Linked DNA regions of Homo sapiens: all the other regions are linked to region 6. The links are contacts of gene promoters, found by promoter capture Hi-C in blood cells and fetal thymus (Javierre and others, 2016). All regions are on one chromosome and are shown on one strand. The core of a region is centred on a gene start or on the middle of the fragment in contact, and the rest is flanking DNA. Distances in the headings are between cores, read along the strand shown. Region 1 overlaps DLGAP1 (DLG associated protein 1). Region 2 overlaps TGIF1 (TGFB induced factor homeobox 1). Region 3 overlaps DLGAP1 (DLG associated protein 1). Region 4 overlaps DLGAP1 (DLG associated protein 1). Region 5 overlaps GAPLINC (gastric adenocarcinoma associated, positive CD44 regulator, long intergenic non-coding RNA). Region 6 holds the start of EMILIN2 (elastin microfibril interfacer 2).

Region 1 (2,877 bases), core at 187-2,686, 780 kb before region 6:
AGACAGGATCTTGCTTTGTTGCCCAGGCTGGAGTACAGTGGTGCAATCACGGCTTACTGCAGTTTCTACCTCTCAGGCTCAAGCAATTCTCCTGCCTCAGCCTCTCGAGTAGCTGGGACTATAGGCACACGCCACCATGCCTAGCTAATATTTTTACTATTTGTAGAGTCAAGGTCTCACTATGTTGCCCAGGCTGGTCTTGAACTCGGAGCTCAAGTGATCCTCCTGCCTCAGCTTCCCAAAGTGCAAAGATTACAGACATGAGCCACCACAACTGTCCAGAATATTTTTTAAAAGACAGAATTAAAAATACATATAACCCAGTAGAAGTCAGGAGTTAAAGTGTTTTAAGTACCTTGTATTTTCTAAGAAAAGGTTAAGGGTATTAAGTCTAGATATTAGTAAGTTAAATATGTGGATTAGAATTTCTAGACTAACTCCTAAAGTCATATAAAAAGAGTCAGCCAGGCACGGTGGCTCACACCTGTAATGCCAGCACTTTGGAAGGCCAAGGTGGGCAGATCACCTGAGGTCAGGAGTTCAAGGCTAGCCTGACCAACATGGTGAAACCCCATCTCTACTTAAAAAAAAAAAAAAATTAACTGGGCGTGCTGGCACATGCCTGTAGTCCCAGCTACTTGGGAGGCTGAGACAGGAGAATTGCTTGAACCCAGCAGGCAGAGGATGCAATGAGCCGAAATTGCACCACTGCACCCCAGCCTGGGCGACAGAAGGAGACTCAGTCTCATAAAAAAAATAAAAATAAAAAATAAATAAAAAGATTCAAAACTGCAAATTAGAAAGGTGTCAATTCACTTAAAACTGATCTATAAATTTAATGCAATATCAACCAAAAACCTGAATTTTGTTGTTGTTGTTGTGTTTTAGTTTTTGCAAAGTGCCACATACAGCCAAGATACTCTTGAAAAGCAGCAAAATTAGAGGATTTGCCCTATTGAGCATCAAGATTCATAATTAGCCTATAGTAATAAGACATGGTGTTAGCACAAGGACAGGGCAGTAGCCCAACAGAACAGACTACAGATTACAGAAATAGTCCCGTGCTCATATGGAAGCTTGAGAGGCATCTTTGCAATTCAGTGGGGAAGGGACAATATTCAGTAGATGGTGCTGTCACTGAGGAGTATTTATTTGGAAAAAAAATAAAATAAAATTGGACTATACCTTTGTATTAGCCAGGGTTCTTCAGAGACACAGAGACAACAGGAGAGAGAGAAAGACAAAGATTTATTATAGGGAATTGGGGCACACAGTTATAGAGGCCGAGAATTCCCAAGATCTCGAGTCATCAAGCTGAGGACCCAGGAGACCTGATGTGTACTTCCAGCTTGAATCCAGGAGCCTGAGAACCAGGAGAGCTGATGGATAGTTTCAGTCTGAGGACCTGCAGGCTCACAACCCAAGGAGGACCAATGTTTCAGGCCAAGTCTGAAGGCTGGAAAAAACCGATGCCCCAACTTAACCAGTCGGACAGGAGAAATTCTCTCATATTCAGTCTTTTTATTCTATTCCGGTCTTCAATTGATTGAATGAGGCCCAACCACACTGGGGAGAGCAATCTGCTGTACTCAGTCTACTGATTCCAATGTAATACTCTCACTTGGAAGCACCATCACAGACACACACAGAATAATATTTGGCCAAATGTCTGGGTACCACATGGCCCAGTCAAGTTGACACATAAAATTAACCATTACAACTTTATACTCCAGCCCTCCTAAGCAATTCTAGTTGAATTTAAGACCTAAATGTGAAAGGCCAAACAATAAAGCTTCCCAAAATGATATGGGGGTAGGGGAAGTTTCTGAAATAAAATATGAAGAGCATGAAAATTTTTAAAAAGATTGCTACATTTGCCTATTGTGTTCAAACTTTGCCCTTCACAAGAAAGGGACATCGAAATATCAAAACCTGCAAAAAGTGCTCATCTCATTAGGAATCCAAAATAAGTAAATTAAATCCACAGTGAGATACCAATACACACCTACCAGGTTAGCAAAAAATTATTTCATTATTTTTTATTTATTTTTATTTATTTATTTATTTATTTTTTGAGACAGAGTCTCACTCTGTTGCCCAGGCTGGAGTGCGGTGGCGCGATCTCGGCTCACTGCAAGCTCCGCCTCCCGGGTTCACGCCATTCTCCTGCCTCAGCCTCCCGAGTAGCTGGGACTACAGGCGCCCACCAACACGCCCGGCTAATTTTTTTGTATTTTTAGTAGAGACAGGGTTTCAGCGTGTTAGCCAGGATGGTCTCGATCTCCTGACCTCGTGATCCGCCCGCCTCAGCCTCCCAAAGTGCTGGGATTACAGGGTTGAGCCACCGCGCCCAGCCTATTTTTTATTTTTATTTATTTGTTTGTAGACAGAGCCTCACTTTGTCACTCAAGCTGGAGTGCAGTGCCACAATCATGGCTCATTGCAGCCTCAACCTCCCAGGTTCAAGTGATCCTCCCACCTCAGCTATTTATTTTTTTAGAGATGGCGTCTTGCTGTGTTACCCAGGCTAGTCTCAAACTCCTGTCTTGGCCTCCCAAAGTGCTGGGATTGTAGGTGTGAGCCACTGTGCCTGGCCACAAAAAATTATAAAGTGTAACAATATCAAATGTTGGCAAAGATATGCAGCAGCAATAGGAATTCTCATGCACTGTTATGGGAGTGTATGTTGGGACAATATCCACATTTTTAAAAATATTATTTGACATTATGAAGAAACTCATAGCAAACAACCCGAACATTTTCTAGAAAAGTCTTTTACTTGTGTGCCAAATACAGGACAGGAATATTCATGGTGGCATTGTTCAAATACCAAAAAAACCCTAAATATCCATCTATAGTAAAATGTATTTTTATTGT
Region 2 (2,847 bases), core at 348-2,847, 610 kb before region 6:
CCTTTTAATGACTCTGACTTGGTGACACATTTTTAGTTTTGGACTGCAGGGGGCAGAAGGTGCTGCAGGGTATTCCTACAAAAGGCAGAACTCTCCAAAGACAAAGTAAAGTTCTAACAAAGAGGTGGATGATCTTGCAAATTCACTTTAGCTCACAGCTTAACAAACAGCTACAAATAAACTGCACAAGAATCCTAAGTTTTAACTGCCATGTATTTGAAATTCCCCTCCCCTGATGATTTAAGTTTTTAAAAAGGTTTTTAAAAGTGCCCATTTAAAACTGAAACTACTTTCACTATTGGCAAGATGAGACTTTCAAAACCTATATTGAAATTTGGGTGAAGAACTATTAATAAAATAGCTTAAAGAAATTATAGCTGAGTTCCTGTCTCACATTGGCTTTAATAATTAAAGAAATCGAACTTTTAAAAAAAGTGTTAAGTTAATTAAATGACTAAAGCAAATTTGAATAAAGCAATTTGTTTAAACTCTCCAACGTCTGAAAAGCCAGACATTCTTCTCAAGGCTATTATCTCCTTCCTTTTTTTAATCTAGAAAAAGTGTGAAAATTTGCTCATTGAACAGTGAATTCCCAACTGTAAGTTGGTAATCACAAAGAGTTTGAAACAAAAAAAGCCCCTGAAGGCTGCCCTTTGATCTGCTTGCCTAGTTTGACAAGAAGCCTGATCTTTCAGAATAGGTTAGTGACACACAAAAGCAGGTTTCAGTTAAGCAACACCAAACTGCAGCGCGACTTTACTCTGTTCTCAGTTCATTTAAATAAATGAATGCCAGACCTCTGGAACTCTTAACAAATATTTCCAATATGTGCACAAAAGCTGAAGTAACAGGAAGTTAAGACTTCAGTGCCTTGGCTACGCCAGCTGATATTTCACTGCAGTAAAACCACGTTTGCTGCTGTCAGGACTGTTTTCATTAAAACTCTCCCTCCTAGTTGTGGCTCAGCTTGGAAAAACAAAGACTTTTTTCCTCCTTACTCATTTCCTATTGTAACAGCGCTTTTGAAAAGTTTCCCGGTTAAGACTTGTTTCCAAACGTCTTGCTTTGCTTACACTTTAAAAAATGTGGCGGTGGGGAGGGTGGGGGCAGGATCACAAGCTTCTTTCACGCTATCCACATACAAGGAAATGTTGTGGAGAAAGCCACAACATGGCCTGAGGATCCCACCGCCCTAAGCAGCGACCTTGTTCCTGCACGTTCTTTTTTTTTTTTTTTTTTTTTTGAGACAGAGTTTCGCTCTTGTCACCCAGGCTGGAGTGCAATGCCGCAACCTCGGCTCACCGCAGCCTCCGCCTCCAGGGTTCAAGCGATTCTCTTGCCTCAGCCTCCCGAATAGCTGGGATTACAGGCAAAAGCCACCACGCCCGGCTAATTTTGTGTTTTTAGGAGAGACGGGGTTTCTCCATGTTGGTCAGGCTGGTCTCGAACTCCCGACCTCAGATGATCTGCTCGCCTAGGCCTCCCAAAGTGCTGGGATTACAGGCGTGAACCACCGCGCCCAGCCCTGCACTTTCTTTTCTGAATAGCTCGGTAACATCATGAGACAGGGAGGCAGGGAGACACCGGTTGTGAAGAGACTCTAGAAATAAGATTGATGGGAAAAGTCGAGATGCACAATTAGGAAAAAGCAAATTTAACTCAACAAGTTTCCTGACCAGAAGTTCTCCTTTGAGCTGGGAGCAATGTCTCTTGCCTGTAATCCCAGAACTTTGGGAGGCCAAGGCGAGAGGATTTCTTGAGCCCAGGAGTTCGAGACCAGCCTGGGCAACATAGCCAGACCCGGTCTCCAGGAACAAAAGAAAAAAAAAATCAGTATCTCCTTGGGAGAAGCAACAGGCATTGAACACTCAAGCCACCAAATCCAAGGTATGGTTGGCTACCCCAGCCAAAGAGCAATCCCAAAGCAGGAATTCAACAGTTAAAAACTGGGAGCAAAAAGACTTAGTGGATTTTCCTTATCGATCCTTCTCATTGTTTTTAAGTCATTTTAGGAGATCTTTTGGCGTCACTCTCAGCTTTCTGGGAGGACACACTATTATCACAAACCAAGCTTACCCCGGGCTCAGGAATGGAGCTGAAAGTGCACTTGTTTTAAGAAAACTTGAAAAGATTTGCAGACTTTTATAAGACAAGACAGTAAGGAGGGCCCGACTTCCTCAGGAGTCTTTCCAGAGCCGACGGGGAAGGCTCCCCCCTCCCAGGTAGTTTTAGAGGAGGACGGCGGAGGAGCACGGGGAGAGGGAGGGGCCCAAGGAGGAAAAGCAAGTAGCTTTTGTTCTTGAGAGTTCCTCGGCCTCAAGTGAAACAGGCCGGCCCGCACACTGCACGAGTTAGCACAAGCAAAGGAACTCCAGGACCCAAGAAACTAGAAATGAGGCCGTGAATCCCACCTTCTCAGAGGCCTGCCCACCCCAGACGACTCGCCAGGGAAACCTAAAAGGGGAAAGAAACCCGGGTAACCTCGGCAGCCTCGGCTCCCCCAAAGAGCCCTGAACCAGTCGCAAAGTTTCCCCTTCAGCCCGTCACCTTTCATTGTTTCCAGGAGTCGGCGCCGAGGAGCTGGACCCTGTGCGCCCTGGGATGGGGACCGCGGAAGTTCCCACCGATGCGGCCGGCGGGGCCCAGCCTTGGTCCCCAGCTCCGGGGAGAGGGCACGCGGCTGTGGGCAGCGCGCCGGTGGAGGAGGGGGGGCGCAGGAGGACCCCAGGAGCGCAGAGGGGGTCGCCAGGGAGGACCACGGCGCTGGGGGAAGGTAGGCCAAAGTGCCGCGGGAGAGTCGGGGGGACGCCAGAAAAGCCGTGGAAAAGGAGCACTGGGGATTCCCGG
Region 3 (2,704 bases), core at 85-2,584, 900 kb before region 6:
ACTTTAATGAAAGTTACATTTCTATACGGATTATAAAGCCATTATAGGTAAGGTTACTGAAAAGAAAGGCTTCGTTTTACCAAAGCAGATTGACTACTAAAATGCCCTGTGTTTGATTCCCTGAAACTAGTTCAACAGAGAACTGTCACCTACTAAGTACCATTGTCCACACCAAAGCCCAAGGGATCAAAGCCTCTCAGTTTAAGCCATTAATGTTTATGAGTATGATTTGATAAAAGTGTCATGACCAAGGCCAAATACGTTCATTTTTGAAATACAATGAAGTTAGATTAACCTCCTGAGGCCATAAAATGTTTCCTCTGGGTCCCATGGAAGAGCCTTACATTCCAATACTTTTGTAAGTCAGAGAGAAGACAACGTGAAAATGAACAAAACTTAGGGTGCAGATGGCTCCATAAGATGGTCCATCACCTCCAAAGATTCTCCCATTAGACTCCATAACCTGGAAGCATTTCCTTCTTTGGGGGAAAAAGCATCCCAGCCATCTGAAGTTATTTCCAGTAATATGTTGCAAAGTTAGTCATTTTGTCTTTTGAGACACTGGTTTAAAACTTTGTGGTCTGATGATTACTGTACACGCTCTTCTTCGCAATGGCAGCCTTCCGGATACAAAGGGTCAAGCTTGTTTGTGTGGTTGGCTCACTGTCACCTAAGAACTTCCCATTATTGGTTGTACTTTAAAGTCATGATAATGAATGGGACCTCCCAGCCCAAAAAATCAAAATCTCCCTTTAGTTCTGATAAGCTAGGAAAAGTTAACTTAGCATAAGTAATTTAGGGAGAAGGATGGAAAAAGAAGAGTGCCATTTCGTTAGACCAACATTGGAAATAATTAACGTAACATGAGAGAGTTAATGTTTCTGAATATGCACACTGTCTTTCTTCTGAGCAGATCAACTTTCTTTTGAGGTAAAGACAAAGTCATCGATGCACTATTTTGGTGTTTATTTAATGAGCGTTTCTGCATCCGGAGCACATGGGCATATAGTAACCTTTATATTGATAGCGGAGGGCTCTGTTCTATAAGTGGGCAAGATAAAACAGTTCATTTCCTTATATTTTGTGTGTTATTAATGTATGCATTGTTTTATCAGGAATGACTCACCAGAGAAGAACTATTCAATTCCTTCTGAATGATGTTTCACTTTGAAATTTGGGAATTGTGCCTTATTTCATAACGAGTGGCCAGAGTGAATGATTGTTGCAATGATGCCTCATTTCCCCATTCAGCCAGCAGACGCTCATTTTTCAAAACGCCGGACTTTCACTTCTTCTTTGAATATACACCATTTATGAAACAGCCACTCCCGTCACTGCCCTGATAACATTTGGAATGGCATCATCATTTATGTTGGCAATATCATTGCTCTGGGTCAGGTTGCAAAATAGTCAAAGAAACACATTTGTCATCTAATGCGCAAGTTCTAAAGAGAAGTGAACTTTAGGTTATAAATGCTTCCAGCTACGATTCTCTTTTTCTAAAAAAGATCTTAAAAGGAAAACGAATTTTTCAGTTTGTTTGTTGGTTGAAATTTTTGGCATTGGTATTATAAAGCGATGCAGCTGGAATCACCATAATAGCACGTAACACATGGAAAATATTACCTTGACCTGGCAAACTATTTTCATGTTTGACCACTACTTGAAGGATCCATAGGGCACATTTCTAGAACAATTTTTTTCTTTTACTTTTTTATATTAAAAAATACAGACAGGGCCTCACTATGTAGCCCAGGCTGGTCTGGGCTCAAGAGTTCCTTCCACGTAGACCTCCCAAAGTGCTAGGATTACAGGTGTGAGCCACACTGCACCCAGCCTAGTTTATCTTTTGTAACAGTAAAATGCAATAAGAGATTTACTTTCGATGTTATATTCTAGATCTGTCTTAATTTGGTTTCTCCCTCAGTGCAGCTGCAAAAAGTGGTTGCTTATCACATTCTCAGGGTTTAGTATTATTAAGAATAGTTTTTGGCTGTTATATATTAAGTAATTCCATACAAGCTTTAAGAATAGATGCAATCGTACACAATGCTACTAAGAGGACACTTAGAATATAGGGAATATCTTTACAATTTGAGGACATCAAGATGGATGTACATGAATGTAATGTGTAAATGTATGTTTTTTAAAATCCACATTTCTCTAATTACTAGTGAGATCGAGCATTTTGTCATATGCTTGGTGATATATAAAGTTACTTTCCTGTGAATTTATATATTTATTTTCTTATGATTCCCTCTTTATAGGCTTTGACCATTTTTTATTGTGTTGGTTTCATTATTTTTATTCATAATTTAAATATTATGCATGTGAACCCTTTTTGCTGCTTAGTGTTGCAAATATGTTCTTATACACAATGACTATTTTTCTTAACATTGTTGACAGGATCTTTGGCTGAACAAAAGTTTTAAATTTTCATGTACTTCCATTCATTAACCTTTCTCTTTATGGCATCTAAGTTTACCACGATGCTTCTAAAGTCTTTCTCTACCATATTCCTTTGCATTTCTTTAGGCCTTCTTTATTGCCTTCCATAAGGCTTTATAGGTTTTTTTATTCATAAAACATTGATAAATTTCTCTTTAAATTGTTTAAGTATAGAAATTGAGATTATAAAATATAATCTATATTGTATTGGAGAACTTTAAGTTTTTAAAATATTATTTTTCATCTATATGCTTAG
Region 4 (2,892 bases), core at 19-2,518, 760 kb before region 6:
GGAAGGAAAGAAAAAAGAAGAGCACCTAATTCCTATATGTCACAGGGTAAGTGGAACACTCTATCCCCTTTCCCTACATTCACCTCTTCGCTCACCGCATCACACTATGAGATAGGTGCTGTTATCCTAACTCAACAGATGAGGAAACTCAGGAAAAGATGATTTAATAGTGTAAAGTTAAGTAGCTTGTAACTGGCAGGTCAGGATTTGCACCAGGCAGACACAGCCTTTTCTAGCGTGTGGAAGAAATATCTATTCCACACCCATCGCTAGGTTCATGGCTAAGACTCCTATCACAGAAGACAGATTAGTAACAGAAAAATAAGCAAATTTATTTAACATAAGTTTCACATGATACAGCAGCCTTCCAAAGGAAGACTCAGGCCCGGGTGAGGTGGATCACACCTCAAATCCCAGTACTTTGGGAGGCCAAGGTGGGAGGATCACTTGAGCCCAGGAATTTGAGACTAGCCTGGGCAACATAGTGAGACCATATCTCTACAAAAAAATGTTTAAAAATTGGCTGGTTGTGGTGGTGCACACCTGCAGTCCCAGCTACTTGGGAGGCTGAGGACACTGCAAGGGAGAGTATTACAGATCAGGCTGGGTGCAGCAGCTCACGCCTGTAATCCCAGCACTTTGGGAGGCCGAGGCTCACTTGAGTTCAGGAGTTTGAGACCAACATGGCCAACATGGTGAAACCCTGTCTCTACTAAAAGTATAAAAATTAGCCAGGCGTGGTGGCACATGCCTGTAATCCCAGCTACTTGGGAGGCTGAGGCAGGAGGATCATTGAACCTGGGAGGTGGAGGTTGCAGTGAGCTGAGATCGTGCACTACACTCCAGCCTGGGTGACAGAGCAAGACTCTGTCTCAAAAAAATGAAAAGTTTCAGACTTTGGAGTATTTCAGATTTCAACTAGAATAAATTTATTATCTAACGGTAACAAACAACTGGGGGACAGTAGGGCAAGAGCTGTCTGTTCCTTCTTCGCCTCTGGGTATAGAGCGAGACCTCTCTGGAATGAGCATCTTATGACCTACTTTCAGACAAAGATAGGTCAGAGCATTCCCTCGTGGCCAGCTCTCACAGTGAGTGACCTTCTTGCTCCTTCAGTTTTCTCAATTGCCAAGTCACCATATTTTAGGGCATTATGTTCTGAGCCCCAACACATAGACAGCATCTACAAAGTCACTGCATAAGTGCCAAGCCAATCAAATCAATAAGCAAACAAATACAACTTAAAAAATAAAATCAAAGTGACTAAGATGGCAAAATAATTTATTTTCTCAAACAATACCAGGTCCAAGGGTAAGGCAATGAATTTACCAAAACCAGCAAGTTCATTACAGCTGGCCTTTCTTCCACCCGTCATCCCCAGTGTGAGCTCATCTTTTTTTTTTTTTGAGATGGAGTTTCACTCTCATTGGCCCAGACGGGAGTGCAGTGGCGCCCTCTCCGCTCACTGTAACCTCCACCTCTCGGATTCAGGCAATTCTCCTGCCTCAGCCTCCCCAGTAGCTAGAATTACAGGCATGCGCCACCACACCCGGCTAATTTTGTATTTTTAGTAGAGACAGGGCTTCTCCATGTTGGTCAGGCTGGTCTTGAACTCCCGACTTCACATGATCTGCCCGCATCCTCCCAAAATGCTGGGATTACAGGCCACCACGCCCAGCTGAGCTGGTCTTCTTAGGCCAGTACTTTCTGTGGTCCCCCGATGGCAGCCACAGTTCCAGCATCCCTTGCAGATGACAAAGTCCAGAGGAAGAAAAAGGATGTCCCTGACTTGGGTGGCTTTAAATAGTGAGGTAAACTTTCCCAGAACATTCCCATCCAACCTCCCTTCTCATCTCTTTGTCTGGTAGTCTGGTGAAGATTCAGCCTCCACGTGTAGGGAGGGGCTTAGCCACCCCTAAAACTCACAGCTGTGTGGAAAAGATCAACAGTACTGGGGTCTCATTAGCAAGCAGGATAGAGAGAATGGTTATGAGGAGGCAAACAACCATGTTTGCCACTGGCGTAAAGGCATGCAAAAGGATGGTATGTTCTGGAAATGATAAGCAGCCAGATAAGAAATTGTCAGGAGAAGGTAATAAAATATGCTGCAGCCCAGTTGTAAAGGAGTTACCGGCCAATATTTGGCTGCCTTGTATGGGTCCATGTTCCTTAAGTTTTCAAAGACAGTGAGATATCAAATAATGTTAGATTTTTAGTATTCCTTTTTTATGTGGTAATCATATAAAATTTCCTTCAAAAAACAAATGCTCAAGGCCGGGTGCAGTGGCTTATGCCTGTAATCCCAGTATTTTGGGAGGCTGAGGAGGGTGGATCGCTTGAGCCCAGGAGCTCAAGACCAGCCTGGGCAACAAAACAAAACCCCATTTCTACAAAAAATATAAAATATTATCTGGGTGTGGTGGCACCGGCCTGTAGTCCAGCTACTCTGGAGGCTGAGGCGGGAAAATCACCTTGTTGCAGTGAGCCTGGGTAACAGAACAAGATCCTGTCTCAAAGGAATTAAAAGAAAAATAAAAAAGGTTCAAAACAAAAATTACACGGCAACATACATGGTAATACAAAAATTCCATAATCTAGGCCAGGCGCGATGGCTCATGCCTCTAATCCCAGCACTCTGGGAGGCCGAGGCAGGTGGATCAATCACCTGAAGTCAGGAGTTCGAGACCAGCCTGGCCAGCTTGGCGAAACCCCTTCTCTACTAAAATTAGCCAGGTGTGGTGGCAGGTGCCTGTAATCCCAGCTACTGGGGAGGCTGAGGCAGGAGAATTGCTTGAACCCGGGAGGTGGAGGTTGCAATGAGCCGAGGTCGTGCCACTGCACTCCAGCCTGGGAAACAAGACCGAAAGTCATCTCAAAAAGAAAAAAATTGTA
Region 5 (2,872 bases), core at 203-2,702, 620 kb before region 6:
GTCCCTCTCCACGTTTGCCTAAGGCAGTCCTGAACTCAAAGTATTCTGCCTTGCATAGCTGCAGCTCTCTCTCAAATAAGACTTACCCTATGTGCTTAATTTTTATTTTTTTATTTTTATTTTTTGAGACAGAATCTTGCTCTGTTGCCTAGGCTGGAATGCAGTGGCACAATCTCAGCTCATTGCAACCTCCGCCTCCCGGGTTCAAGCGATTATCCTGCCTCAGCCTCCCAAGTAGCTGGGATTACAGGCACGCATCACGACATACAGCTAATTTTTGTATTTTTAGTAGAGACGGGCTTTCACCATGTTGGTCAGGCTGGTCTCGAACTCCTGGCCTCAAGTGATCTGCCCACCTCTGCTTCCCAAAGTGCTGGGATTACAGATGTGAGCCACTGTGCCTGGCCAAATGTGCTTAATATTAAAGCCAACACTTGCCCAGCTGCTCTGAAAGGACAGCTCAGTTTTAAAAGCACTATGTCCTGACTGCACGTTACACATTTTTATTCCTTGAAGTAACAAGGCTCTTTTCTCTCAGTTTCCAAATGCTCCTTGACTTCTCAACTAAGTGTACATTGATACAATCACAGTCATTTTCCTAATCAATGCCAGGTTTTCCATCCTTGGAGGTCCTTGAGGCTCCCTGAGGTCTTCTCACCTTCTTCTTCCGATGAAGAACATCACCCTTGGTCTTAGCAGGGCTGGCCTGGCTCCACCCACCAGGCCATGATGCCCCCTCTCTTCCTGCCTCTGTCTCCTCCACCCCTTTCTGTTCACCCTCCCTCTTCTGCCCTGTACCACCCTGGTGTTCTGCTCTCCACCATCTGCCCTGGCATCAGGGGATGCTTCCTCTTCACATCAATTCCTATTACTTCGACTAAAACAAACCCTTAGACCAGACTGTTATTTTCTTTTTCTTTTTTTGGGATGGAGTCTCACTCTGTCTCCCAGGCTGGAGTGCAGTGGTGCGATCTCAGCTTACTGTAACCTCTACCTCCCAGGTTCAAGCGATTCTTCTGCCTCGGCCTCCCGAATAGCTGGTATTACAAGCATAGGCCACCAGGCATAGGCCACCATGCTTGGCTAATTTTTGTATGTTTAGTAGAGATGGGGTTTCATCATGTTGGCAAGGCTGGTCTCAAACTCCTAGCATCAAGTGATCCATCGGTCTTGGCCTCCCAAAGTACTGGGATTGCAGGCATGAGCCAAGCCACCGTGCCTGGCTGACTGTCCTTTTCTCTGGACAGAAATGTCATCCCGAAAGTTTCAAATCACCCTATTGATGGTTTTGCCCAAAGAAACCAATCATTTCATCATTCTGAGATGCCCTCTACTGAACTTTTTATTTGCATTTTCTTCTATGGCAAACCTTTCACCTAGGCTTAGGATGAGAGGTATCTTATGGAACTTTCACTGATTTCAAATAGCCTACACTGTTACTAGATCTATATGTATTATTTATGTCCTTAGAAAGTTAGAGATTTCAGAGGCTAAAGATATCATCTAATCCAACTCTATGCTTTACTGACAAGAAAACTAGCTCAAAGAAGTTAGTTTACTCCTAGCCACCCAGCTAGTATTATGCTGGCCTAGTGTCATAGTTAGGTCTTCTGGAGCTAAGCTCAGTTCTCTTCCTTCTGTATCGGGGGCAGCTTGGGTTACTGCATATCGAAATCACAAAAAGCAGATTGAGGCTTCTTCAGAGTGTTCTACTTACGTGAGCCCAGAGGGAGAAGGAGAAAGCAAATTGGAGGCTCTGAGTGGTTAGCCCTTTAGTAATAAAGAACCGGTGTTGGGCCAGGTGCGGTGGCTCACGCCTGTAATCCCAGCACTTTGGGAGGCCGAGGCGGGTGGATCACAAGGTCAGGAGTTTGAGACCAGCCTGGCCAACATGGTGAAACCCCGTCTCTACTAAAGATACAAAACATTAGCTGGGCGTGGTGGCACACGCCTGTAATCCCAGCTACTCGGGAGGCTGAGGCAGGAGAATCACTTGAACCCAGGAGGTGGAGGTTGCAGTGAGCCGAGATTGCGCCATTGCACTCCAGCCTGGGTGACAGGGAGAGACTCGGTCTCAAAAAAAAAAAAAAAAAAAAAAGACCTGGTGTTGTTTTCTGCATTATAGGAATGATGCCAGTGGTAAAAAAAAAAATCACGCAGCTTGGTTTCAGGGATGATGATGACCTCATCAGCACTACAACAGCCACCACTATCTCCAGCCTACAGCCCCCGCCTGAAGCCCTCACACTACTTCCTTGTATAACATCATAGGAGAGAAGTAAAGACAGCATTAAGGATCGGGGGAAGGGAACTTTACTGCTGCTGTTGTAAGAAACTGGAGAAAGGCAGACGAGAGGTGTGGGAAATAGGCGAGGCCAGGACCCAGCAGGACCACCTCAGAGGCGGACTTGGGGACAGTCACCTCCCAGGCGGCAAGTGGAAACCGGAGTCAGAACCTGAGCCAGGTAGATTTGCTCATCTAAGATCCAACAATAACATGGATTTGTAGGTCAATCAGCTTTGCTCTAAAACTCTAAAGAGGTTCTACATTGTTACCTCATTTAATCCTCAACAACCTTGAAATTTAGGTATCTGTTTTTTTATATAACGAGAGATGAAGAAGCCCAGATTTAGAGATGCCAAATGACTTGAGCAGCTACAGAAGTTCAATTCTCTTTCCCCTGTTTCCTTAGTGTTTTTTTTTTGAGACAAAGTCTCACTGTTGTGCAGGCTGGAGTGCCATGGCACAAATTCAGCTCGCTGCAACCTCCGCCTCCCAGGTACAAGTGATTCTCATTCCTCAGCCTCCTACTGATGCGTAGCTGGAACTACAGGCATGCGATACCATGCCTGGCTAATTTTTGTATTTTTA
Region 6 (3,062 bases), core at 242-2,741:
AAGTTGCGGGGAGGGATGCTGGGGAGCCACACTTTTAAGCAAAGTGTTCCTGAGGTTTTAGCTTAGACATCTACAAAACTGGAAGATTCCGTTTTATGGGGACATACGGACAGAACTCACTCGTTTTAGAACACTACTTAGCCAAACCTCTCAGCGAATCCTATACGGAATAGTCTTTAGCAGTATACATTTTGGAATCTTCTGTGTGCCCCAGAACACACAATATGGATCCAATTAGATTCAGCTGCCTTATGTTACAAACAAACATTGAAAGGGAGAAAACAGAAGTGGGAGTGGGAGCTTTGTTCATCCTCTCCTACGCCCCCGCGACCCCACACTCCCGAGGCGCGCGCATCCTCCCCACTCACTCGGGCAGCACCCACTCCCTAAATAGCCCAGCGTGGCCGGTGCCCCGCGAGCGCTCGGAGCGCTTTTCCGCTGCGGGCTTTTCACCGGATCTGGAAGGGATTTACCGGAGGGACTGGAGCCCAGCGCAGCAACCCCACCCCACCCCCACCGCCCCGGCCCGGGCGCGCCCCGCCCGCTCCCCGGCTCCAGGACTTACACCAGCGCCGACGGACAGGGCATCTGGTTCCAGGCACAGTTGTACTGAGCCTGAATAAAACTCTCACTTCCCTCCAGCACGGAGCAGCTCACATTCTTGTTCACGATGTAGGCGCACCAGTTCCTGGGGTGCAGGAGAGAGAGGGAGAGGGGCACGGGGTAAACCCGGAGAACAATGAGGCCAGGGGAGAGGGGACTGCGGCACCAGACCGAGCGAGGGTCGGGGGGGCCCGTCGCCCTCTGCGGAGGCGGGAGCTTCACCGAGCAGACGCCGGAGGGTGCCCGGGTGCGCCTCTGGAGAGCGCGCGCCTGGACCCGACCAAGACGGGAAAGAAAAGCACCCATGGTCCCAGGGGCTCATGGAATTCCTGGGAGTCGTTTTCGGATCGCCCGGGTCTGCGGGACGCTCTCTGCGCCCACGCCCCCGGAGTCAGCTCTGCCTGAGGCGCCGGCTGCGGAGCGCGCGGTCCCCCGCAGAGGGAGCCGCCCGGGGAAGTCCAAGGGAGGCCCCCGGCTGCCGCTCGTCGTCTTTGGCAGGGCAGCTCTGGGGCTCAACTGGGGGCCGGGGAGGGGTAGGCGGTTTGGGGCCAGCCAAGGGGCGCGCACTTACTTGTTCCTGGCGCTGGGCCGCGCGGGATACCCGGGCTGCGGGCCGGCGTGGCACAGCCCCGCGCCAACCAGGGCCAGCAGCGCCAGCGCCCAGCGCCAGGGCACGCGGGGCCAGGGCCGTCTGGGCTGCCACATCCCGCGCGCAGCGGGCGCGCCCCGCCTGCCCGGGTCCGGAGCGCGGCGGATCGGGGCACCGGCCACAAGGCTGCCGGCGGCCAGGGCGCCGCCCGCGAAGGCAAGAGGCTCGGGCGCTTCGCGGCGCTCCAACCAGTGCTCCGCGGCCGCCCCCTCCGGCTTCTCGTTCCTACTTCTCCTTCTGCAGCCCCGTGCGCCCTGCGCTTCTCCCCGGTCCCTCAATGACGCACAGGTCCCCCCGGGTGCCGCCCTCTTTATTTCACTTCCCTCTCCGAAACGTGACTCTCCCCCCACCAAGTCTCCCCGTCTCCAGTCCCTTCGCTTCTCGGCAGGGGGCTCGGGGTGGAGGGGCGAAAGGGTTTGGGATAAGGGTCTACGTTACAGCATTTCCAATGACTCATTCCTTTGGTCTCTTCCCAGATGCCGAGCGACTCCGCCTCCCACCTTCCGACAGGCTCGCTCCCGGCCCCCCGGGACGCGGCCGCCGTCGGCGAGTCTGGCCGTCCTCGCGTCGTGCCTGGGTGCCAGCCTCCCGGGGCGAATGAGGGACATGTTTATCAGTCCCGCGGGGAGAGGAGTGGGGGCTCGACTCGAATTTCCTCCTCGGGCAAGACAGGGCCGTTCCCCCACCAGCTCCATGGACCTAGAGAGTCCAGGAGGAAACGAACGCTGGTTCTTTCTTTGCCCAACTCTGCCTTAGGCACCATCTGACAGTTTCCGAGGCCACGCGGGGGGCGGCAGGACAGGACAAGCCACAGCCCCGCCAATTCCCAGAGGCTGCTGCAGCTCAGCGTCCGGCTCTATCACTTACTGCAATTCTCCTCCAATTCTTGAAAGGTGATCTCACAGCCTCTGCTTCTGAGGTCCCACTGTGAACTTTCTTTTTCTATTGAAACTAAGGCATTTACTCACGTTTGCTTCTTAACAGTTCAGGCACTGCTAGACATCCGTCTTAAACTTTCTTGTATGTTTTCTGCCTGTTGTTGAGTTACACTAATCTCTACCGATGTCTTTTTGGGATGAAGTACCAGAATGTTAAGTAAAATCACCACCCAAGTGTTGTATTCTAAGGGGTGTTGGAGAGAGCTGTGTGTTTGAGATGACCTGCTGCATCTAATCAATGTACAGGGTCGTGAGTGGCGTGGTTACCAGACTCCACAGATAAAACTGTGGCCTCTGTGAGCTAACCAGACGCTGTTGGCCATGACTCGTTAAGTGAATAAAGCTTTGCTATGGGCCAGGCGGGGTGGCTCACGCCTGTAATCCCAGCACTTTGGGAGGTCGAGGCGGGTGGATCACCTGACGTCGGGAGTTCAAGACCAGCCTGACCAACATGGAGAAACCCCGTCTCTACTAAAAGTACAAAAAAAAAAAAAAAATTTGCCGGGCACGGTGGCACATGCCTGTAATCCCAGCTACTTGGGAGGCTGAGGCAGGAGAATCGCTTGAACCAGAGAGATGGAGGTTGCAGTGAGCCGGGATCTCACCACTGCACTCCAGCCTGGGCAAAAAGAGTGAAAATCTGTCGCAAAAAATAAAAAATAAAAACGTTTGCTATGTTCCTACTTTACTAAATGAAGCCATTGGTCTATTTTGTTTCTAATATTCTTTGATGGTGTTGTTGGACCTTTTGATTTGCAGATGAAAGAAAGAGAAGTCCCTAAGTAGAAACTACAAGGGCCAAGCAGAACATTATACCATGTAAGGACATCATCTGTCCCTGGACTCTTAAGCGGAAGATCATGCAAATAGTG

Evidence for each region. Contacts are between HindIII fragments. The CHiCAGO score rates a contact against its expected background, and 5 or more counts as called.
Region 1: a contact is called between a fragment that was not itself captured here and the fragment with the promoter of EMILIN2 in region 6, in 2 of 17 cell types (M0 macrophages and M2 macrophages). The highest score is 6.6, in M0 macrophages.
Region 2: a fragment that was not itself captured here is called in contact with the fragment with the promoter of EMILIN2 in region 6 in 3 of 17 cell types (M0 macrophages, M1 macrophages and monocytes); the score reaches 6.2 in M0 macrophages.
Region 3: a contact is called between a fragment that was not itself captured here and the fragment with the promoter of EMILIN2 in region 6, in 4 of 17 cell types (monocytes, M2 macrophages, M0 macrophages and 1 more). The highest score is 7.6, in monocytes.
Region 4: a contact is called between a fragment that was not itself captured here and the fragment with the promoter of EMILIN2 in region 6, in 1 of 17 cell types (M0 macrophages). The highest score is 5.5, in M0 macrophages.
Region 5: a contact is called between a fragment that was not itself captured here and the fragment with the promoter of EMILIN2 in region 6, in 1 of 17 cell types (M0 macrophages). The highest score is 5.4, in M0 macrophages.

Annotation. Positions count from the first base shown.
Region 1 is chr18:3,628,869-3,631,745 of GRCh38, reverse strand. The region is part of intron 7 of DLGAP1 (DLG associated protein 1); the gene reads left to right. Among named protein-coding and RNA genes, the nearest start is that of DLGAP1-AS6, 23 kb to the left of the region's middle. The HindIII fragment of the contact is 716 bases long and covers 1,079-1,794 here.
Region 2 is chr18:3,452,083-3,454,929 of GRCh38, reverse strand. All of the region lies in intron 1 of TGIF1 (TGFB induced factor homeobox 1), which reads right to left. Among named protein-coding and RNA genes, the nearest start is that of TGIF1, 3.3 kb to the right of the region's middle. RefSeq lists enhancers at 1,578-2,197, 2,198-2,819, 2,820-2,847. The HindIII fragment of the contact is 952 bases long and covers 1,122-2,073 here.
Region 3 is chr18:3,746,208-3,748,911 of GRCh38, reverse strand. The region is part of intron 5 of DLGAP1 (DLG associated protein 1); the gene reads left to right. Among named protein-coding and RNA genes, the nearest start is that of DLGAP1-AS6, 95 kb to the right of the region's middle. The HindIII fragment of the contact is 1,380 bases long and covers 645-2,024 here.
Region 4 is chr18:3,606,838-3,609,729 of GRCh38, reverse strand. All of the region lies in intron 7 of DLGAP1 (DLG associated protein 1), which reads left to right. All of the region lies in intron 2 of DLGAP1-AS2 (DLGAP1 antisense RNA 2), which reads right to left. Among named protein-coding and RNA genes, the nearest start is that of DLGAP1-AS2, 4.5 kb to the right of the region's middle. The HindIII fragment of the contact is 5,854 bases long and covers 1-2,892 here.
Region 5 is chr18:3,468,438-3,471,309 of GRCh38, reverse strand. All of the region lies in intron 2 of GAPLINC (gastric adenocarcinoma associated, positive CD44 regulator, long intergenic non-coding RNA), which reads right to left. All of the region lies in intron 2 of LOC105371965 (a long non-coding RNA gene), which reads left to right. Among named protein-coding and RNA genes, the nearest start is that of GAPLINC, 3.6 kb to the right of the region's middle. RefSeq lists an enhancer at 1,382-2,172. The HindIII fragment of the contact is 7,022 bases long and covers 1-2,872 here.
Region 6 is chr18:2,845,435-2,848,496 of GRCh38, reverse strand. It overlaps EMILIN2 (elastin microfibril interfacer 2), which reads right to left and starts at 1,491. Exons shown (of 8, transcript NM_032048.3): 1 at 1,175-1,491; 2 at 566-688. The coding sequence starts at 1,308. RefSeq lists silencers at 514-603, 1,224-1,273. The HindIII fragment of the contact is 11,570 bases long and covers 1-2,535 here.